Linked DNA regions of Homo sapiens: region 2 is linked to region 1. Evidence: promoter capture Hi-C in human tissues and cell types (Jung and others, 2019). All regions are on one chromosome and are shown on one strand. Each heading gives the region's core, a stretch centred on a gene start or on the middle of the fragment in contact. The rest is flanking DNA. Distances are from core to core; before and after follow the strand shown. Region 1 holds the start of UGT2B10 (UDP glucuronosyltransferase family 2 member B10). Region 2 has its middle 37 kb from the start of UGT2B10.

Evidence for each region. The method cuts DNA at HindIII sites, captures the fragments that hold promoters and counts their contacts. A contact is called where the count stands out against the background at its distance.
Region 2: a contact is called between a fragment that was not itself captured here and the fragment with the promoter of UGT2B10 in region 1, in 1 of the 25 tissues and cell types used here (adrenal gland).

The regions. Positions count from the first base shown.
Region 1 is chr4:68,810,854-68,817,604 of GRCh38, reverse strand. UGT2B10 (UDP glucuronosyltransferase family 2 member B10) reads right to left here and starts at 1,611. Exons shown (of 6, transcript NM_001075.6): 1 at 868-1,611. The coding sequence starts at 1,585. It also overlaps the pseudogene LOC100422189. The HindIII fragment of the contact is 5,700 bases long and covers 298-5,997 here.
Region 2 is chr4:68,850,198-68,856,392 of GRCh38, reverse strand. No RefSeq gene overlaps it. Among named protein-coding and RNA genes, the nearest start is that of UGT2B10, 37 kb to the right of the region's middle. The HindIII fragment of the contact is 6,022 bases long and covers 1,567-6,195 here.

The DNA of each region.
Region 1 (6,751 bases), core at 362-2,861:
CATTAAGCTAATCCTTTTATCTTTGGTTCTTCAAGTTAACTGTGGACTATTTTGTGAGTATGGCTGAAATCATTGTACCAACTACTCATTTGGATCCAAGCTAAGATCTTAATAATATTAAGTAAAAATATTTGTAAATTATAGCTAGAAATTTTTGAGAAATTATTGAAATAGAGATCTGTACTCGACCATAATCAGTCTCGTATTTTTAAATAAAGAGACATAGTTTCAAATAAACTATATAGATATAACAACCTTCACACTTCAACAAGATGATTGGACTTTAAATAAAAGATTTCCAATTATTTAGTGAAGGAGTATAGAAACATTTGAAACTTCAAATTACCCTTATTGATTTTTGCATCTGAGATATAGACATTATCTCTCTCTACTGTGAAGACAACCTCCTGGTAACATGGGAACATCTTTTAATTTCTAAATAAGACAACTGAGATTTAGAAGGAAAAATTTCTGCAGTTATATAGATAGTTGTAGAAAAATGTGTAATTACTCATTCTAAATCTATGCATTCGGTTAGATGTTACTTGACGGATCTTGCTGTTTTTAAGATCTGAAACATTCTATAGTAAAACAGATATATAATTGCTTAAAGTCTTAGGTGTACTAATATATAGGTTTATGATTTCCTGGGGTGTTCTGTATGAGTGATGGTCACAGCGTTTTCACTGACCCTATAATTTAAGCTTTTCTATAATATTTGTGAGATTGGTAGATCATCTTGTATTTTCATTTCATAAATTCATTTACCAAAAACTCCACTTCCCTGACTTTATGGCTTTATGCAAGTTGTGCTTCAAAGACACAAATAAGTTAGAGCTTCATGTTACTAATTGAAAAAAATCTTACCTAAAACTTCACTGTAAAACTGATCCCACTTCTTCATATTAAATATTTGGAACCAAAAGTCAAAATAAAGCACATAGAGCATATTTTTTACCCTCTCCATGAAAGTCATTTGATCACTTAATTTTGACATAACAACAGGTACGTAGGAAGGAGGGAAAATAAATCCTCCACTGTGCCTTTCAAATGAGTAGCCAGGACTGAAGCTGTGACTGTACACAAAGGGTATGTTAAATAGCTCAGCCAGCAGCTCACCACAGGGTAAATAAGCATCTGCAAAAACGATGTCAAATCTTGACTCTTGTAGTTTTTTCATAAGTTTCTTATTTGAAACTACATCTTTACAGAAGTTTCTAATTATGTCATTAATTGCCCACAGGATTTCTTGTTCTTGTGAAAAAGGTAACCAAAATGTATCTTTTTGAATTTCTGACAATCTCTTAACCAATTGCATGATGATATTCTCAAATTCAGTTTTAGTTAAAGATGTAGGATAAACTTCAAGTTTAAGAGTGGATGAGTCGTTGGGATCAAAAAGAATGGAAGCTGAAGATGCCAGTACAGTCACCTCATGACCTCTCTGAACAAGTTCTTTCAGGATTGTCTTCATATTCATCCAAAGGCTGTATTCTGCGGCCCATACCAGCACCTTTCCACAACTCCCAGAGCTAAAGTAAAAACTGAGTTGTATCAGCAGAACTGTAGTCCATTTCAGAGCCATCCTTGTGCAATGTGATAATTCTTTTCCAGTCACTGTTTCTTTCTCATACTTATATACAGAGATAAATCAATCAAGTTAAAACATAACTCCTTCAATTCAAAGTAAATACATTATATGAGCATCCTGAGTACATGGATGGCAAGGAGACAAAGTTCGATTACTTCATATTTACTCAAGGATGTTTGATGTTTCTTTTATGTTTATATTTGGTGTCATCCACCTAAGTTTAATGACCTTGCAAATATCGTGTTTTATATAATGTATTTTATAATAGTGTCAAGAACAGTGGCAAGTGAGAGAGTCCTGCAGGCCCCTTGACACAGAATGAGAGATGAAGTAATTATACAATGCAAATAGAATTTTTGAATATCTTGGTTCAAGGAATATTTTGTAAAACTTTGTTGAAGTATAATTCACATACCATATGATTCATGAATGATTATTTAAAATTAAATATTTCCTAGTAAATTCACAGACTTGTGCATCCAACATAGCAATCAGTTTTATCTAAAAAAAAAAAAAATCCTGTATATTAACTGTCATCTCCCCACCTGAATTTCTGCACCCACACTGTACTGGGCAACCAGTAATCTAATTTCTGCCTCTACAAATATGCCTATTCAGGATCTTTTTAAAAATAAATGAAACTATATAATATGTGGTCTTTTGTGGCTGGCTACTTTTATTTAGTTTAATGTTTTTAAAGGACCATCCATAGAATAGTGTATATAAGGATTTCATTTTTATTGCTTTTTATCAGATGCTACTTATAAGCAGAAATTATTTATTCATTTTTCAGTGGATGGACATTGATTTTCTTCCACTTTTGGCCATTATAAATAGCGTTCACATTTTTATTGCCAAATAGTATCAGATGCTACTTATAAACACAATTTATTTATTCATTCATTTATCAGTGTACGGACATTGTTTTTCTTCCACTTTTGGCCATTATGAATAGCGTTGATTAACATTGATGTACATGCTTTCTGTAGACATGTTTTTATTTTTCTTGGGTATATGCCTAGAAAGGCAATTATTGAATTATGTGGTAAATATATGTGTAAACTTTTGAGGAATTGCTAGACTTTTTCACAGTGGGTGAATAATTTTCTATTCTCACCAACAATGTATGAGAGTTTCAGTGTCTCCACCAACTTGCCAAACCTCATCTTTCAAATAACAAAAAAGGTTATTTTCTATTTTAATTCATTAACACACTCTAACAGACACAAAGAAAGGAAAGTTTCCTTCCACATATTGGAGGGAAAAGGGAATAAATTAACCACTAACTTACCTAATACTTCACTGTAAAACTGATCACACTTCTTTTTGTTAAAATTATCAAATGCAAAGTTAAAATGAAGAAAATGCAAAAGATTTTTCATCTTTCTGTAAATGTATTTTGGTACTAAGTTCTGACATGACAACAGCTACATCAGAAGGAGGTAATGAAAGTCCTCCACAGAGTTCTTGGTACATACTGCCAGTTGTAAATGGATGATAGTAGACCAAATGTATAACAAATGTTTAACAGATTAAGCTGTTCAGATAGCAGCTCACTAATGAGAAATGACATCTGCAAGAATGACATAAATTCTGGAATCTTGTTGTTCCTTATAAGTTTCTTGTTCAAAACAGCATACTCACAGAGCTTTTGAACAGTATCAGAACATTCATAATATGTGTTTTTTGTATCTTTGAATCATATGCCAAAATGTACTCTTTGGAAACTTGTATGTCCATATCTTGATCAATTTCATAAAAATGAAATCAAGTTCATTCTCAGTAAAAGATGTGGGATAAACCTCAAATTTAACAGCAAATTGTTGGAATCAATGAGGATGGAAGCTGAAGGTGACAAGCACAGTTACCTCTTGGTGTTTCTGAGCAAGTTCATCAAGTATCATTATTAAATTGATATAAAGACTGTATTTCACTGGCCACACCAGCACATTCTCACAGGACTCAGAGCTAGAATACAACTGTCAGCATAAGAAACAAAAAAGCCCATTTCTTAGACAACTTGTTAAAATGCTATCTTTCTTTCTAACTTTCTCTAACTTGGTACATATCAATGTCAATCAATGTCACAATGATTTAAGTGTTGACAATAGAGTTTTTGGAAAGCAAGAGAATAAAGAAAAGGATGAATGATTTTGTGTTTGTATGTGTGAATAATAAATTTATTGTTATTTGCTTATTGTAAATGTGGCTGTCTCCAGAACAAGAGATAATTTAATTGTATATAAAGAGTTTCTAGTATAAGAAAGCATCATTCTGTCAACAATGAGGCAGTGGTGTGATCTATTCTTATTTATCTAAACATTCTCAAATAGAATATCTTCATTTTCTCTATGTAGTTTCACACTTATTATATTAGCTTCATTTCATGTTCCTTGACATTGTTTTTCTGACTGTAGAAATTCCTTTTATTTTTATCCAAACAGATATGTTTTAAGTACAATTACAGTTACTTTGTTTCATTTGAAAATATTTTGTCTAAATCACAATAATATCCTTTTCTGAATATTTGCAACATTGCTTACATTTCTCAGTCTTAGAAAATATTTATCTTCTAAATGCCTACTACTTAACTTGTTTCACAGATTGCCTTGTAATTCAGGCAAGTTGTACTTTTAAAAAGTCTAAATAGAAATTTACATCAAGTAGAATTAGGAAGGAAAAGATGCATGTCACAAAATAGAGATATTTGTTTTTATTCTATTAATAATCTGTTAATCTGAAATGAGGTAAATCTTTCTTAAAAAGATATTTGAACACAGTTTCTGAGCAAATATTGCCTGGAGAGTGGCAATATTGTTCAATATTTTCAATGTCCTTGAGTGCAGGCATTATGTGTCACCCAGATTTCCCTTTTGGGAATATAGAAATTACTTTCCAGCTGATGAAGTGATGAACAACTGACATACCTCACCTATAAGCTCTCTCTCTCAGTACATCTCTGCTGAAAGCTATCTAGTATGTAGTGACTTTTCCAAGACAGCCAATATCCAATGCCTGGTCACATGTAGGACTCTAAAGGCCCATTCTCCTCATTTCAACTTGGACCAACTCTGAAGGGCTAACTTAGCTTCAGAATTTCCAGTGGGTGAGATGAAACCTATGCTGAGACTGCATGTCTTAGCATGCTCAGGGTGCTATATAGAAAAATACCATACATTGGCTAGCTTACAGACAACAAACATTTATTTGTCACAGTTCTTGAGGCTGAAAGATTCACCATCAAGATGCTGGTATTGGGCATTCCTCCAAGATGGCAACCCATCACCATGTCTTAATGGGGAAAATAGATGAATGAGTTATTGTGAGCATATTTTTCAAAAGAATTAATTCCATTAAAGAGGACTCTGCCTTCATGACATAAACACCTCCTAAAAGGTTCTGTCTGCTAATACAATCATTTTGGTTATAAGAATTTTAACATATTAATTTTGGGGGCACTCAGACATTCAAACTATTGCACTGAATTATGTACTATTTTGTTCCACTGTCCAATCTTGCTTCCTACTTTTTCACAGATGTTATTTTCAAGAAATCTCCCTAATTATCTCCCTCAAAAAATATTCAGCTTAGAGTCTACTTCTTGGAAGCACCCAACATTTGATAATATGTACCAAGAGAGGTCAGAAAAAAAGAACAGACAACAAAATGAGATTTTAGAGTTGGATCATACACTACCAGTTGTAATGAGAATCCTATCACTATTGGTACAGAGAACACAAATAGCCCCTGGAATGTGATAATTTAAATTTTTCATACTTTCAGTAATGGTAAATTATGCTGGTAGTATTTTGAAAGGGAAAGCTTTACTTATTAGGATATATCACAAATTTATCAATATGGGAAAAGTAGAAATTATGACCACAATAGAGGCAAATGTTTTTTTCTGCAGAATTAATGCTTGGGAGAAAATAATGGAAGAGTGAGGACCAATAACCATCAAATTAAGGCAAACGGTGAAAGCCAGAAGTCTCCTTGGAAGTGTTACCAGAAAAAGGGGTCTAGATTCAGACACCAAGAGAAGGTTATTGGATTCCACACAGTAAGGAATTCAAGGTCAGTCACAGAGTGCAATGAGAAGACAATTCATTGAAAGCTATGACATTACAGAGTAGGGCATCCTCAGAAGGCAAGGAGTTGAATGCAACACCTTTGTTTTAAGTTTTTCTTATGTAGGAGTCTCATCTCTGTAAAGGTTAATTAAGCTGTGTCTAGTTGTGGGTGGTCAGACAACAGGACAAAACTGATTATTCTATTTATGCCAAGAAAACTATCCTTGACACTTTCTTGTGTGAATACATCAAAACATAACTGTTATTATCTTGAAATCATGTATCGTTTTGGGTATTGGGACATCTGGACTCTTCATTGCAGGTGTGTGTGTTTATAGGGAGCTGAACTTAAAATCACATTACTCTGTCTCTCCTCAGCTCCTGCTTCCCTAACTGCAGCATATACAGAGACTCTCACTTCATGTAGAAGCACCCGGTCCCCACCACCAAATGAATCTGAATCTTAAGTCCAGGACTGAATTTTAAAAATAAGCCCAGCTCAGTTCTAGCTGAATTCCCAGCCTAGTCTGATCACTAACCATATTCAGGGTCTCAGTTTAGATAGAGTGAAATTATAAGACATTTGAGAAATAATTCATTGCAGTTAAAATCTTCAGTTTCTAGACTCCCCTGAACTCCGAATCTGCAAAAGAGGTCCACTCCTTTCTGTTAAGGGATAGCATTTTTCCATTGTTTGAAGATGACATAGTGTCCTTTTCCTTGCAGGACATTTTATACCTCCCCTGTGATTTGCATTTGGAATGATTTCAATTATTGTAAATGTATTCAGTCTTGCTTCATAACAAAGGTTGTTGTTGATCTTAGACTATGTTTCATGTAAAAATGAGTGGAATGTAAATTTCATGGTTGTGGGGTGGAGTGTTCTGCAGAGTGTTAGGTCCAATTGGTCAAGCGTCAAGCTTAAGTCCAGAGTTTCTTTGTTACATTTTTGCCTCAATAATCTGTCTAATGCTGTCAGTGTGGTGTCAACCCCTGCCACTATTATTGTATGACTGTCTAAATCTTTTCATAGGCCAAGAAATACTTGTTTTATAAAGGTGTTTGCACCAATGTTGGATGAGTATATATT
Region 2 (6,195 bases), core at 3,328-5,827, 36 kb before region 1:
TACACTTTTCAGAATTGTACAGAGTTAGAGCCTTGCTCTAGTTTAGAATATGGCAGAAGAAAATATCTTCACTGGTTTTATCTTTAATCCAGAAGATTAAAACTTTCTTCATATAAGCAATAAGGCTGTTACACATTCTTATCCTTTGTGTATATTGTTGTAGCACTTTTAATGTCCTTCATTAACAGTTTGTTTGTATTCAAAATTTGGCTAAATGTTTGGCACAAGTATGGGCTTTGCCCTATCTCAGCTTTAAACATACCTTCATCATTAAGCTCAATCATTTCTAGTTTGATTTTAAGTGAGAGACATGAGACCCTTCCTTTCCTTTGAACTCTTAGAAGCCATTTGTAGGGTTATTAATTTGCTTAACGTCAGTATTGTTGTGTCTCAGGAAACAGGGAAGCCTGAGGAGACAGAGATAAATGGGAAACAGCTGGTTGGTGGAACAGTCAGAATACACACAACACTTATCAGTTCTGTTTACCATATTATATGCATGCATTTTGTGATGTCCCTCAAAAAATTACAATGGCAATATCAAGAAGCAACGGCCACAGGACACCAAAACTGATATAATAAAAACAAAAATGCTTGAAACTTTGTGAGATTTACCAAAATATGCCACAGTGACACATTGTTAGCATGTGTTAGCTATTGGAAAGATAGCATTGGTAGACTTGCTTAATGTAGGGTTGCCACAAGGGTTCAGCTTGTAAAAAAAAAAGTCCATATTTGTGAAGCACAATAAAACAAAGCAAAATGACAGAAGGAATACGTGTGTGTGTGTGTGCGTGGTGTGTGTGTGTGTATATATAAATATGAGAGTTAACAAAAGATAACTCAGAGCTGACTTGATAAATACACTGATTAAAAAAACAAACTTCATCTGAATTAAATTTAAAAGAGTTTAAACTCTTGAGCAATGGACAACTCACAAATTGTGCAGCCTCCTGAGTCAGAGTAGGCTCTGAGACTCCAGTGCAGTCACGTGGTGAAATAAGATTTATGGAAAGAAAAGGAAAGTGACATACAAAAAGTGGAAGTGAGGTAAAGGAACAACTGAATTGGTTAAAGCTCAGTGCTTACCTTATTTAAACAAAGCTCAAATAACTGGCTACATTTATTTGGCCAAAACGTGGCGACTGGCCCAAGTGTAGGCTATGGTCTGTTTACACCTCCACTTGCCAAAGTTCATGATGTACAGAGAAACTTTTAGGCCAAACTTAAAACATGTAGGAGGTAGCTTTAGGCTGAACTTGATTTAACACTACACAAGTACACTGAGAATATATCATAAACCTTTGTTTTTAAATTAAGTCTATTGTCTTATCAAATTTTAATATCCCAATAGAGCATCATGATTGTGAAAATGATAAAATTTAAGTACCTTGTTAGTATTAAAAATTGCTTTAATATAAAAAATTTAATTGTCCATGTATTGTTCTAAAAATATAAAGCACAATGCAAAGCAATACTTATTCAAGTAAATTTCCTAAGACTTGATAAAAACAGGGATCGCCTCTTACCTTGCAAACAAAAACTGCCCCCTCATCCCCTCCGAACTCAGCGTGTCAGAATTTTACTACAGGTAGATGCAGACAAGAACAACTATAGAATAAACCGGAGAGGAAATAGAAAACCTGAATAGACCCATAAAAAACGGAAAGACTGAATTACTAATCAAAAGACAACCCACCAAAAAAAAAGCCCAGGCCAAGAAGGCTTTGTTTTAGAATTCTACAAATCATTCAAGGAAGAAAACATAACAATTCTTCAAAAAACAATCCTCCTAATAATAGAAGAGGAGAAAACACTACCAACATATTTCATTGACCCCTTCTACTAAAACCACAAAAAACACATCACAAAAAATGAAAACTACAGATCAACAGCTCTTGTAATTATAGACACAAAATTCCACAATAATATCTTAGCAAACTGAATATAAGAACATACAAAAGTTATTATATACCACAAATAAGTGAAATTAATCTCAGCAATGCAAAGTTACTTTAACATTTAAATTATTGATAGCACCTGTTGGGAAACTCCTCTGCCCTCACAGGCTCAGAAGTGCCTGATCTTACTGCCTGGCTTCTTCCTGATGTCAGTGCCCACTTGATCTCATAGCAAAGTTGGGACTGAGCCTAGGCACCATGAGTGACAGCAGGAGGCAGACTGATTCCTGGGCAAAAGGGGGTGGGTCCCCAGTGATCCCCATCTTCAGGACCGGGGAAAGCCTGAAGGCTGGGGACTAGGTTGCCTGTCTGTCCCATGGACCGAAGTGGGAACTTGTGGTGCCTCTTCTGGGCCCACCCATGGCTGCTCACAGACCAATTAACTTGCACTTTCTCCCTAGTGAGGCCCATTAAAACTATGGGTTCAGCCATAGCTGAGCAGATGACAATATGACCAGCTGCAGAGAGGAACTACCTTCTCAGTGGAGAGCTTCTGAGACCTGCAGAGACATCGGGACAACAAGCTGCAGAGAGGAGCAACCCACTCTAAGGCCTCTTTTCAGCTAGGAGCTGAGCAGACATCAGGACAACCAGCTGCAGAGAGGAAAGTCGGAGAATTCCTCGAGCCCAGGAGTTCGAGACCAGTCTGGGCAACATACAGAGACCCTGTGTCTACAAAAAGTAATAATAATAATAATAAATAGAAGTGTGCAGAGGTGCATGCCTGTAGTCTTAGCTATTCTTGAGGCTGAGGCAGGAGGATTGATGGAGCCCAGGAGTTTAAGGTTACAGTGAGCTGTGATCACACTTCCACACTCCAACCTGAAAGGCAGAGTGAGACTATTTCAAATAAAAACAAAAAGGAAGAAGAAGAAGAAAGAGAGGAAAACTCAAGCAAGGAGAGAAGTTCAGATGCTCCAACCCCTAAAATATAATAATAACTAACTTTCTAATATGTACAACACAACTATGATCTTTGAATACTTATGAAATACTCTTTATTTTTTTATTCTACGTAGCTTTTTATAATTACCTATACTATTTTTGGCTGCAAACCTGAAGTTATTTTTAACACTCACATAAAAACTAAATTTTAAAAATTTGTAAATTATGCACTAGTTTATGATGATTTCCTGGTAATTCCAAAATCAGTACCTCATTATGGTACTAGGCATGTACCAAATGGCTTAGCTATAGACAACCATATTAAACACTGCTGTCAATGCTTTGGAGTATGTCATCGAAGATTTAACAGTCTTTGAATAAAATTTAGCATCATTGCATTTTAGAATTTTTTTCAACAGCACTATTATTTATAAGATGCCAATCATTCTTTCTCATATCTAAAAATGTCCATGCTAACAAATGTAATAATATTATGGATATACATGAAAAATGCCACTTGAAATTTTTTATCTTTATATGTAATTCCTAAGCAGAATTAATTTATTTCTCATACAGAGAGGATTACATAGATTTGCTTTGTTTGTAAATCAAAAGATGTCAGACTGTAACTATGGAACAAGTGGATATAAGTAAACTGTCTCCCATTTCATTGTTTTAAAAATAAAAAAGCTTAATAATAAATTTGGAAGAAGAGAGTGAGTATAGTACAAACATTAATTTAAAAAGTGTGGACCATTATTAATTTGTTACTCTTCTTCACACCAGAATTATGACTGTCTAACAATTAAATACTTGAATTTTTCATTTATTATCTCAATTGTTTAAGTCACTATGTATGAAATATTATGATTGCATTTAAACTGATCTAATGTAAAAATAAGTCCAGGAAATATAGTTGTTCTGCTTACTTCAGTCTTCTAGTAGTTCTCATTAATTAACCTGTCCTATTCTGTTTTCTTTGTCTGCTATATAGAAGGCATTTAGTAGGGTTCTCAGTCTTTTTAGAATTCTAACAAATATGGTTTAATTTGAATTTGACTCAGAACAAAGTATTTTCTTTATATAAATGATCACATGGAAATTTGATGACAGGAAATCAGATACCTTAGTATCAATACTTCGCTGTATAGTGGGTAGTCCAGAATGGCCTTGGTGAGACTCTGAAGAACAAAGATTGAAAACATGGCTAACAGCCAATCATGATGAAAATACTTCAACAGAAAAAAAACAGATTCACCATTTATTATTTAAAAACTCAAAAATAAAATCTAGCATGTTTATATTTATGTTCCAGTCCTGGGGGAAAAATACAATTAATTACAACAGTTACCATTTTTTTTATACACAGTTACGTTCTTTATGGCTAGAACAAATTATCTTTATTTCTATTTCAACTGTAGTTACCTCTTAAACAATAAAAGTTCAATAATTTTCTAGGTTGTCTGTCTCCTAATTCAATCATTACAAACACCCTTTCTCCTTATGTAGGGATATTTCAGTTGCAACTGAAAAATAACAGCCTGTCTTTTATTTCCAGTGACAGCATTTTATATGGGAAAAAATCCCCAGTCTTTATCATGAAGTGGTAACACACTTCATACTGGAGTGTCGCCTATACTTCACTTTGGTGGTTTTAGTGGAAATGTTTATCAGAGGTTCTAGGCTAGTGCATAAGTTTTAAAATAGTCAAAAATGAAATAGGAATTGCTGAAGATGGTAACAACACATTATAAAGAAGACTGAGAACAAAGTTGAAGCAGGGAAACATAAATATTATTAGAGTACTGTCTAGTTTTCACCATGTTTATGCCAGTCTTTCAGCATGAGAGCTCATCAAATGTTATTTTTCTGGATAAATTTTATTTGGTATATATAATGTATACGAGATGCTATCATCAGATGCAAATATGTAGTGAAAAGGTTGCTATAATGAAGCAGGTAAGCATGTGTCAATCATCTCACATTAGTTACTCAATTTTTTTATTGTTTTTAAAACTCTTCCAAAATGCTTTATTTTCAGTAAATTGGCATGACATAATCAATCACTAGTTCCTCTTCTATTTAATTATAAGGAAATAATTATGATGTTAATATTTTTAATCCCATCACTGATGAATTGTAAACCACTACGCCTTTCAAATTTACCTGTTTAAAACAATTGAAAAAAATAAGATACTAGTATAAAAGTGACCATATTCTTTGTTATTGTGGTTGTGGTTGCTTTTGTCTCATTTGAAATAATTATAAAATAACGGGCTTGAAAGAGATAAATTGGAATATTTCTGTTTAACAGCCAAAATGTCTGAAACCAGAAATTTGTTGTTTTTAAATTATTTCAGTACACACAATAATTTTAGTTATGCTATTTTATTAATAGTTACATTAACAAAAATTAAATAATTTTAATATTTACTATTATGTTTTTAATATTAATTTTAATAAACTCATTCTGGTGTTGAAAAATAAAGATAATTTTTGAATAGTTAACACATATTGAATGTATATGAAATGACATGCATTGTATTGGTTCTTTGTATTATGTAACTTCTTGATTATAGTTTTTTACAATTGTATTAAAAACATAAATCAGGATTAATGTCACCCTCTGAAAAACACAGTCTTCCCACTGTGATCTTTAAATAACAAGAACAGAAGTTACCTCCATTGCTATTGCTACAGTGCTATGCATTAACACTTCATAATTTTAACTTGGTAAGCATATACTTATATCCATCCTTATTATTTGTCTATTAGTCCATAATTATTTTAACACTAAATGCCTCAAAGCATTCAATGCAATGTCTCAAAGTAAAATATTGAACTCTTCTTAAATTCTAAAATCAAAATACAACAAGAAAAAACGGTGATAGTAGCAAACATTTACTAAGAATCTCTTTATGATGAGAATAATTTCAGCAAGTATTCTAAGAACCATTGCATGGCTACTCACAATAACCAGATAAGAAAGATATATGATTTTTATTCATTCAATTTAACAGTAAAATCTAGGAAGAGATGTGCTTTTTTTACTCATAGTCAGCATATATATATATAATTGACTACAGTATATTTTTCAGTATTTCGTTATAAAATTTGCATACAACGAAATGCATGTATCTTCACTATACATTTTTTGAGTTTCAACAAATGCTTACACCTCTATAAACCCAAACCCATAAGACATTATTATGACCACACAAATGTCCCTTCATGCCTCTTTGCAGTCCAACTCAGCCCTTGCTTCCCAGAGGAGATTGTTTTAGAATATCTTATATATGAAATTATGCATTCAGTATGTACTCTTTTGTGGCTAGTTTCCACTCAGCCT